Regions from separate parts of the Homo sapiens genome. Here regions 1 and 3 are each linked to region 2. Evidence: promoter capture Hi-C in human tissues and cell types (Jung and others, 2019). All regions are on one chromosome and are shown on one strand. Each heading gives the region's core, a stretch centred on a gene start or on the middle of the fragment in contact. The rest is flanking DNA. Distances are from core to core; before and after follow the strand shown. Region 1 overlaps TCF3 (transcription factor 3). Region 2 holds the start of APC2 (APC regulator of Wnt signaling pathway 2). Region 3 overlaps TCF3 (transcription factor 3).

Region 1 (3,249 bases), core at 151-2,650, 170 kb after region 2:
CTGTAATGCCAGCATTTTGGGAGGCCGAGGTGGGTGGATCACGAGGTCAGGAGATCAAGACCATCCTGGCTAACATGGTGAAACCCCATCTCTACTAAAAATACAAAAAATTAGCCAGCTGTGGTGGTGGGTACCTGTAATCCCAGCTACTTGGGAGGCTGAGGCAGGAGAATCACTTGAACCCAGGAGGCGGAGGTTGCAGTGAGCCAAGATTGCGCCACTGTACTCCAGCCTGGGTGACAAAGCAAGACTCCGTCTCAAAAAAAAAAAAAAGAATAAAACTTTGGAACACTTCAGGAATGTCCACGTCACCCTTGTGCAGATGCTATGCTAATCTTTATCATTCTCATTTTAGTCCAAGAGCTGTCCAAGCAAGTGCTCAAAGCGCTGCTTTTGAAAGAACACAGGCCGGGCACAGTGGCTGACTCACGCCTGTGATCCCAGCACTTTGGGAGGCTGAGGTGGAAGGGTCACTTGAGGCCAGGGGGTCATGGCTACCGTGAGCTGTGATCATGCCCCTGCACTCTGGTGTGACAGGGTGAGACCCTGTCTCAAAACAAAACAAGTAAAAAAGAAAAAACAAAAATCAGTAAGCTGGACTATATCAGAATTGAGAGTTCCTGATCAGCAAAGATACCAGGAAAAGAAAAGCATTTGCCAAAGAATAGAAGACACCCACCACAGATGTAGCCAACCAGGAGGTGATCTCCCACAATCAATGGGAAAGGACAAAAAGAAAGTAACTCAGTAGAAAAATAAGCAAGGTATCCAAAAAGGCATCTCACAGACAAGGAAACCACATGGCTAGAAACACGTGGAAGTCCGCTTCAGCACATCAAGAGATTAAGGAAATGCAAATTAGGGTGGCTTTGCGCTACCCTTTCATACCCAGTCAGCTAGCAAAGTTGAGGGACCTGAACAGTCAAAATCTTGCCTGTGGGAGGGCAACTTGGCTGCTTTGGAAAATAATTCATCAGCCTTTCCTCTGAATTGACAACAGGTGTATCACACCCTTGATCAGCAGGTTGGCAGGAAAGCGTGATGTTGGAATGACCTACAGCCCCACGCCCGGGCCAGGGCCAACGGCACACTCACAATGGGACCCCAGCCGCTCACACCACACATGTACCCCACACACAACATAAGCCAGCAAACCAGCGTGTAAAGAACACGCTAGTGGGACGCCGTGTTCATGAAGCTCAAGAACAATAATTGCAAAACATGTGGCTTAAGGGTACACAGTGCCCCAAATGAATGCGGCCACTCTGCATTCAGCAGGGCCTGGGCCACCCCCAAAACCCGGGCTTGGGGAGTCCAGGAATCAGTCAGGGCTCACATGGAGCAAACCAGCTGCCATCCCCTGAGACCCCCGTACCCTGAGGGGGAGCCTCAGAAATGCACCCGCTCCCCACAGTGAACTCTGCTCCAATCGGCCAACGCCAGCCACCAGGACCAGCCCAGGCCTCAGCACACGAAGTGAAGGACAGGAAGGAAACAGAGGGGAGCCTATGGGTGAAAGACTAAGCTTGGGGCTGCCCCTGGAAACTGCTGACCTGTGGGTCCGGACCCTTCTCTGGGGTGGGGCCGTCCTGGGCACTGCAGGGTGCTGAGCAGCATCCCTGGCCCCCACCCACTCCATGCCAGGAGCTCCCCTCAGCCCTGACAACTGTAGATGTCCCCAGACATCACCCAGTGTCCCCTGGGGGCAGAGCCGCTGCGGTGAGATGCCCTGGCCTAGGAGTGATAGAATCAAGGTACTTGGAAAGTCTGCCTGGAAAGCAGGCAGGATTCCTGGGCTGGTGGAAGGCACAGGGCCAGGACAGCGCCCACAATGACCCCACCTTCTCCTGGGCCTCTCATGGGTGTCTGAGACACTCAACAATCCCCAGGCCCAGGTCCAGATTTGTCCCCAACCTTTTCCTTTGTCCCCTTCCTTACGGAGTTCCCAGCCCCAGTGTCACCCACAGCTCGGGCCAGAAATCCCAGAGCCACCCTGCCTTCTCTCACCCTCAAGTCCTGTCCATCACAAATCCTGTGGGCCCCGCCTTCAGGAGATGCAGGGCCCACCCACTGCTCACCCCTCCAAGGCCCCTGGACCAGCCCTGTGGCCTCTGCCTTGGTCTCCCGGTGCCACTCATAGTCTGTCCTCCAAGCAGCCACCAGAGGGTATCTGTGAGCACCTGGGTCAGGTCCCATCCCTCCTCAGCCCTCCACGGCTGCCACCTTTCTCATGGCCAAATCCCAAGTCCTCCCCGCAGCCCACAAGGCCCCGCATGACCTGCCCTGCCCCGCCCTCCCCCCTTCCCTCTCTCCCTCTCCTCACTCTGCTCCAACCCCACGGGTCTCCTGGCTGTTCCTCCCAGGTGCAGTCCAGCCCCAGGGCCTTTGCCTGGGCTGCGCCCTCTGCCTGAAACCCTCCTCCTCCAGGTACTTGCCTACTCTTGCCTCCTCCCAGATGCTGCCCAAACACCACCTTGTGGCCTCATGGGCCACCATCTTCAAAGCCATACAAAACCCCCAACCCACCGCAGCCACTTCGTTCCTTCTCCCTGGCACCTGTACTGTGCAGCGAGCTCCTGGTCTGTCTCCCCTGAGGCAGAGGCATCCTGCTGCACCCCTCGCCCCTTCCCCAGTGCTGAGCGCTGCCAGGCACACAGCGTCTGGGAGCAGGCGAATGAAGAGGCAGCCCAGAGCTGTCCACCTCACACGCCCAGGGCCAACGCCGGCCCCGCCGGTCTTACCCACCCTCCTGAAGTTGCTGACTGGGGCGCCCATGTCACCAGGTGCCCCCACGGTGACACCTGCCCTGGGCTCCCACCCTGACCCCCACCACTAGAGTGCCTCAGTTTCCCCAACTGGAACCAGGAGTCGGACAGTCCCAAGCTCAAGGGCTTACCACTGTAGGAGTCGGGAGGCCGAGACAGGTCAGGGAGGGTGCCTGGCTGGCTGGGGAGGGCCGCGTGGTTGTGCATGAGGCTGGTGCTGCCTGCGAGGCCGTCCTCGGGGTGGCTGCCTCCAACCTGCAGGCGTGGGGAGACGGGTGCATCAGGGGGAGCCGGGTCCCCGCCCACTGCCCAGCTCCACCCTCGCCCAGCGCTCACCAGGCCTGCGTGCCGCCCGCCCAGTGACATGGGGCCGGTGAAACCTGAGGCCAGCGCCCCGTGGCCAGGCAGCAGCGTGTGCATGTCGCCGGCTGTGCCCACGGCGTGGCTGCGGAGCACGTGGATGGCCTCGTCCAGGTGGTCTTCT
Region 2 (3,531 bases), core at 1,032-3,531:
CACGTTCCCTGGCCCAGGCCTCAGTTTCCCCATGTATACAAGGACAGGACTGACCTTGGATCCCCCAAACCCCTGCCTGATGGGGGCCTGGGGAGCTGAGACATCTGAAACTACACAGGGAGGTGGGACTTAGTTCCTCTTTGGGGGAGGCAGGGATCATCCAACCCACCCTTCAGTAAACAAGACTGGAAACCGAGGCCAGAGAGAGACATGCCCAGGGGGACACAGGGACAACAAGGCTGAGCTGAAGCCAGGGCCCTGGGCTCTGCATCCCCAACCCCATTTCAGCCTCGCCCAGCTCTGCCCCGGCTTGACCTGTCAAACCCCACCACGCGCCCTACCCCATGGCTCCACCAGACACCCCCTGTGTCCCAAGCATGCATTGATCTTCCCTCAGCCTGGAACGCCTCTCCTCCTGATCACTGCTGTTCACTTCTCAGGGCAGCCTTCCAGCCTCCAGAAAAAAATCCCCTTCGAGGCGGGCGGATCATGAGGTCAGGAGTTTGAGACCAGCCCGACCAACACGGTGAAACCCCCTCTCTATTAAAAATACAAAAATTAGCTGGCAAGGTGGTACATGCCTGTAATCCCAGTTACTGAGGAGTCTGAGGCAGGAGAATCACTTGAACCCAGGAGGCGGAGGTTGCGGTGAGCCGAGATGGCGCCACTGCACTGCAGCCTGGGGGACAGAGCAAGACCCCATCTAAAAAAAAAAAAAAAAAAAGGCCGGGCGTGGTGGTTCACGCCTGTAATCCCAGCACTTTGGGAGGCCGAGGCGGGTGGATCACGAGGTCAGGAGATCGAGACCATCCTGGCTAACGTGAAATCCCGTCTCTACTAAAAAATACAAAAAATTAGCCTGGGCGTGGTGGCGGGCGCCTGTAGTCCCAGCTACTCGGGAGGCTGAGGCAGGAGAATGGCGTGAACCTGGGAGGCGGAGCTTGCAGTGAGCCGAGAACGTGCCACTGCACTCCAGCCTGGGCTACAGAGCAAGACTCCGTCTCAAAAAAAAAAAAAAGAAAAAAAAGAAAAAGAAAAAAGAAAAGATCCCCTGTGTCTGCCCACTGCATTGCCTCCCCAGACCCAACCAGTGGGGACAGCTGCGTCCAGCTCTGGGGGCTCCCAGACAGCCAGGCCGAAGGGCTCTCAGCCCCTGGCAGTGCTGGCCCGGGACAAGGCCCTCGGGTCTTCAGCTCAAGGCCCAACAGGAAACAGCACGGGTCCTCCCTTGCCTTTGTCTACGGGGCCTTGAATACTCGGACCTTCCCACCCTCTCCTATCATTCCCTGCACCAGCCCTTGCAGAATCTTCCGCCTCCTCTCCATTTTACAGAGGAGGAAACCGAGGGTTGAGCGGCGAATGATTTGCCCTGCCTGCCCAGCACGGAAAAAAATCACTCTTCTGGCCCCAGTCGCCTCCCTTTCTGTGCTGTGAGTCTGTGTCCAGAGCAGGAAGGGCTGCTCCGAGCTGCAGGGACGGGCTCTGTGTGTTAAACCTTCAAATGGCTTCCAGGGACTCATGGAGCATCCAGGACACCTGGAGATGGCGACTCCTGGGACCCCTGGCCCTTCCCTCCTCTGGCCTTCGGTCCGTGAGGGTGAATTAAGTGTGCCACCCACCAGGGGCAGAGACACATGGAGACAGAGATTGAGAGACAGAGAACAGAGGGGGAGACAGAAAGAGAGAGGGACATGAAGAGCAACGGAGTTACAGGAGGATCTGACGCTCCGTTGGGGAGACAGGGAGAAATGTGGGGAGATGCAGCGTCCCAGGTGCTCCCCAGTGGCCCTGCCCCTCCTCCCCTCTCCCCTCCCCACCAGGCAGGACCCTCAGGGAGCTCCAGCCTGGACCCGAACCCTGTCCCACCCTGACGCACCTGCACCAGGCCAGGCTGGACCTGTGGGGTGGGTGCAGGCCTGGCCCCAGCCCGGCCACTGCCCTGGAAACCCCTCCCCCGCCAAGATGCTGATGTAACATCCAGGATTTGATGTTTTACTCTCCAATTCTGCAAATCCAGACGCAGGAGGTTTTAAGAGGCCGTTGCACCCTGCAATAAAGTGCGGGACACAGGAATCTTGGTCCTCGGGGCACCCCCTTCCCTCGGGGGGGTTTCGCCCCCCGCACTCACGGCCCCTGAGCCCGCGCGGAGGCCCGACGCCCCGCGGCCGACGCCGGTCCCCGCCCCGGGCCGCCATTGGCTGTTGCCATGGCACCAGCCCGTCTTCCCGCGCCCTCATTGGCTGTCTCACCCGCATCCCTCATCCCGCATCCTCCCCCGCTCGCGGTGGTCTCGCCCAGCGCTAGGAGCGGCAGCGCCGCCTGCCCAGGCCCGGACCGGGCTTTGTCCGCCCCGGAGCCCCTGCCCGCGCCGCGGAGACCCCGGAGCCCGCGCGCTCCGAGGCCACCCCGGGCCGGGATTTCCGGTGGGGCCCGCGGAGCCGCGCAGAGGGAGGAGGCCCCAGACCCAGGCGCCCCGCCAGCCCAGCTGCACGTAAGCGGGTGTGTGTCCTCGGGGAGGAGGGCAGGGGCGCGACCTCCGCCTCGCGTCGAGGTTTCCATCCCTGGCTCTCAGCATTGCCCGTCAGCACAGACTCTGGACCCTCCATTTCCCCAGAGTGGGAGCTGGAGGGGAAACTGAGTCCCGGTGAGCTGGGCGTCAGCGTTTCTGCAGCCGGTCCTGCGCACACACCCACTCACGGGCTTCACCATCCGGACCTCCCTGAGGTGATCGGAGGAAGGGATGGGCAGGCCAGTGGTGTGTCTTCGGGGGTGTTGCTGCACCTCTCTGGGTGTCAGTTTCCCTCTCTGGAAAGAGGGGGTTTGGATTAAAGGAAGGAGAAAGGCCCCTTTGGGCCTGGCTTCCCATACCTGTGCCTCCCTCCCCTGAAATGCAGCCCGCTCAATAAGACCAGCCCCCAGTCATGGTGCCTTCAGGGAGTGATCGCTCAGGAAGGCCCCCAGGAGGCTACACGATGCAACCTGGGGGTGAAAGTAGGCAGAAGAGCTTCGTGGAAGAAGCTGCACTGTGTGGGATGGCAGGACTTAGAAAAGGTGCTCTAGGCAGGGCAACTGCACGTGCAAAGGCCTGAGAGAAGAGAGCCTCCAGCCTCTAAGTGAGTCGCGGTGTACATGGAGGAGTCGGAGCGTATCCTGAGGGCACTGGGGAGCCATGGAAGGTGTTTGAGCATGGGAGAAATGGGATCTCACTTGTGACGTTTAAAGCTCCCTCTGGCTGTGCATGGGGGACTGTGGGAGGCCAGGAAGAGGCTGATCAGAATGTCCTCACAGAGGGGTGTCAGGAGCTGGGGGAGGCATGATCCCGCTGGGCAGAGCTTGGAGGGACTAGCTTAGTCTGATGAGGATGCAGAAATGACCACCGAATGTGGGGAGAGGGAAGGTGTCTGAGGCTTGGCTTCGGTCAGCTGAGAAGAACCACGTGGGGGAGGCCTGGGTTTGGGGAGCAGGAGGCAGACATGTGTTGCTTTGCACGTCATCTGGTCCTTCCACCTGGCTGGGCATGGGATGGTGACC
Region 3 (3,254 bases), core at 501-3,000, 190 kb after region 2:
CCACCACCACCAGCCAAGGAACGGATTTTTTTGTTGTTGACAATGGCTCGACCCACAACGAAATCCCACTGTCTCAGCCCACACAAGCCCACAATCCTGGCATCTAAATACGTCAACAGAGAAACCGACAAACAGAACAGAGGGGGATGGCGCTGCTCTCAGCCTGACATTAAACAGATTAAAAATCTAAATATGGTTCAAAGGCCTCGCAGCTCCACATCCAACTATCCCTCAAGTACTCACAAAGAAGGACAAAAATAATCCATGTTTCAGCCTCGGCAGAGGAGCTCTGCGTCCTCCAAACAGTAGCTACCGTTTAAGCCAAAGCTGAGTTTTGGCACTGGAGATCTAGAAATCAAGAAAGGACCTCCAACTTGGAACTCAGAAACCTCTGAAGCAACCTGACCTGAAGAGGAAATTAGGAAAAAAAAAAAAAAAAAAAAAAAGGAACAAATGTCAGTAATATGAGAAAAACATGCATTATGGAAACCAATGGGATGGGGTTCACGGGGTGGAACCCTCAACACCACACTGATGGAACAGAAGAGGGCAGAAGTCAGCAAAAGGGGCCTGTGATCTGAAAGTCACCAAAAACTTTAGAAAGAGAAGAAATGCCGATAAAGAGGAAAATTGATCAATTGATCAATATCGATTTGCCAATGAAGCAGATTCTCCAGAAGAAAAATCAACGAGAGAGAGAAAATGCACAGGGCAGCCGAGTCAAGAACAAAGAAACCACCTAAAAGTTGGCGCATTGAGGACCGCGGCGCCCTCAGCCTCCCTGCGCAGGTGGAAAGACAGGCGCCTCCAAACGTTATCAAAGAGCCGAACGGGGCCAGGCGCAGAGGGTCAGGCCTGGAATCCCAGCACTTTTGGCACGGGTGGACAGACAGGCGCCTACAAACATTATCAAACAGCCAAATGAGGCCGGGCTCGGTGGCTCATGCCTGTAATCCCAGCACTTTGGGAGGCCGAGGCGGGAGGATCACCAGGTCAGGAGACCGAGACTGTCCTGGCTAACACGGTGAAACCCTGCCTCTACTAAAAATACAAAAAATTAGCGCAATGGTTACTAAACTCTCTAAGTTTCAGCTTCTTTACCAGTAAAATACGGTAATAATTACACCTATTTCGCTAACCTGTTAGAACTGAGAATTCCCAGTGAATAAGCCAAGCTTTGTGTCCAATGCACAGTGCTCAAGAAACACTGATGTAAGCAGTGGCTCACACCTGTAATCCCAGCACTTCGGGAGGCCGAGGCGGGCGGATCACAAGGTCAGGAGATGGAGACCATCCTGGCTAACAAGGTGAAACCCCGTCTCTACTAAAAATACAAAAACTTAGCCGGCACCTGTAGTCCCAGCTACTAGGGAGGCTAGGCAGGAGAATGGCGTGAACCTGGGAGGCGGAGCTTGCAGTGAGCTGAGATCACGCCACTGCACCCCAGCCTGGGTGACAGAGCATGACTCCGTCTCAAAAAAAAAAAAAAAGTGATGTAAATTGTTGTATTACTGATGTTGTTAAAAAGTTAATGAGGCGGCCAGGCGCGGTGGTTCACGCCTGTAATCCCAGCACTTTGGGAGGCCGAGGTGGGTGGATCACTGGAGGTCAGGAGTTTGAGACCAGCCTGGCCAACGTGGCGAAACCATGTCTCTACTAAAACTACAAAAAATTAGCCAGGCATGGTGGCAGGCACCTATATTCCCAGCTACTCAGGAGGCTGAAGCAGGAGAATCGTTTGAACTCAGGAGGCGGAGGCGGAGGCGGAGGTTGCAGTGAGCTGAGATCGTGCCACTGCACTCCAGCCTGGGCAACAAGAGCAAAACTCGGTCTCAAAAAAAAAAAAAAAGTTAATGAGGCAGCAATAAAAAGAAAAAAAAAAGATACAGCCAACAGCTTGGCTGGATCTCCAGGGAATTATGCTAACGTAACAGAATAAAAGCTAATCTCAGAAGGTTGCAAACTATAGGATTCCATTTACACAAAATACTCAAAGTGAAAAATTGGGCTGGGCACAGTGGCTCACACATGTAATCACAGCACTCTGGGAGGCTGAGGTAAGAGGATCACTTGAGCTCATGAATACAAGATCAGCCTGGAGAACACAGCAAGACCCCATCTAGACAATATTTTTTTATTCTTCAGACACGGTCTCCCTCTGTCCCCGAGGCCAGAGTGCAGTGGCGCAATCTCAGCTAACTGCAACCTCCGCCTCCCAGGTTCAAGTGCTTTTCGTGTCTCAGCCTCCCGAGTAGCTGGGATGACAGGCACGCACCACCACGCCCAGCTAATTTTTGTATTTTTAGCAGAGACGGGGTTTCGCCACGTTGACTAGGCTGGTCTTGAACTCCTGGCCTCATGTGATCCACACACCCTGGCTTCCCAAAATGCTGGGATTATAGGTGTGAGCCACCGCACCCAGCTGAAATTTTTCTTTTTTTTTAAACAGAGACAGGGTTTCTCCATGTTGCCCAGGCTGGTCTTGAACTCCTGGGCTCCGGCAATTCTCCCATCTCAACCTCCCAAAGTGCTGGGGATTACCAGTGTGAGCCGCTGACCCAGCCCTCTACAAAATACATATTTTTTTAATTAGGTGGTCGCAGCTGCTCACAAGGCTGAGGTGGGAGGATCAGTTGAGCCCAGAACTTCAAGGCTACAGTCAGTTATGATCACACCACTGCACTCCAGTCTGGACAACAGAGTGAGACCTGGTCCCTAAAAAAAAAAAATCGTACAGATGAAGAACAGATTGGTGATTCCTGGGCTTAAAGAAGGTGCATGTCTCAAAACTGCACAGAACTACACACACACACACACACACACACACACACACACACGCACGCGTACACACACGCACGCAGACACAGACGCAGACACGCACACACGCGCAGACGCACAGACACGCACGCGCAGACGCACACACACGTGCGCACACACGCACGCACACGCACAGACGCGCACACGCACAGACACACACCCGCACGCACACACAGACACACACACGTGCGTGTAAAGCCGGTGGAATCTGATCAGGATCTGTGGACGGCACCAATGTCGGCTTCCTAGGTCTGACGCAGCACCACGGGTGGGCGGGACGGTACCCCTGGGGGTGGCTAGGTGAGAGGAGAACACTCTGCCACTTCCTGTGAATCCCGAAAGACTTCAGAATAAAAAGTGGATCAACTTCAAGGACGAGGGCCCAAGAGAGTAACAGAAAATTCACCAGAGAGCCATTCACAGGGTCAATCCCCTTC

Evidence for each region. Contacts are between HindIII fragments. The study calls those that stand out against the background at their distance.
Region 1: a fragment that was not itself captured here is called in contact with the fragment with the promoter of APC2 in region 2 in 1 of the 25 tissues and cell types used here (H1 embryonic stem cells).
Region 3: a contact is called between a fragment that was not itself captured here and the fragment with the promoter of APC2 in region 2, in 1 of the 25 tissues and cell types used here (spleen).

The regions. Positions count from the first base shown.
Region 1 is chr19:1,616,215-1,619,463 of GRCh38, forward strand. TCF3 (transcription factor 3) reads right to left here. Exons shown (of 19, transcript NM_003200.5): 15 at 3,102-3,249; 16 at 2,897-3,020. It also overlaps the pseudogene RNU6-1223P. Among named protein-coding and RNA genes, the nearest start is that of UQCR11, 12 kb to the left of the region's middle. The HindIII fragment of the contact is 6,389 bases long and covers 1-3,249 here.
Region 2 is chr19:1,447,840-1,451,370 of GRCh38, forward strand. It overlaps APC2 (APC regulator of Wnt signaling pathway 2), which reads left to right and starts at 2,282. Exons shown (of 15, transcript NM_005883.3): 1 at 2,282-2,499. RefSeq lists a silencer at 2,129-2,328. The HindIII fragment of the contact is 30,284 bases long and covers 1-3,531 here.
Region 3 is chr19:1,639,329-1,642,582 of GRCh38, forward strand. All of the region lies in intron 3 of TCF3 (transcription factor 3), which reads right to left. Among named protein-coding and RNA genes, the nearest start is that of TCF3, 12 kb to the right of the region's middle. The HindIII fragment of the contact is 9,192 bases long and covers 1-3,254 here.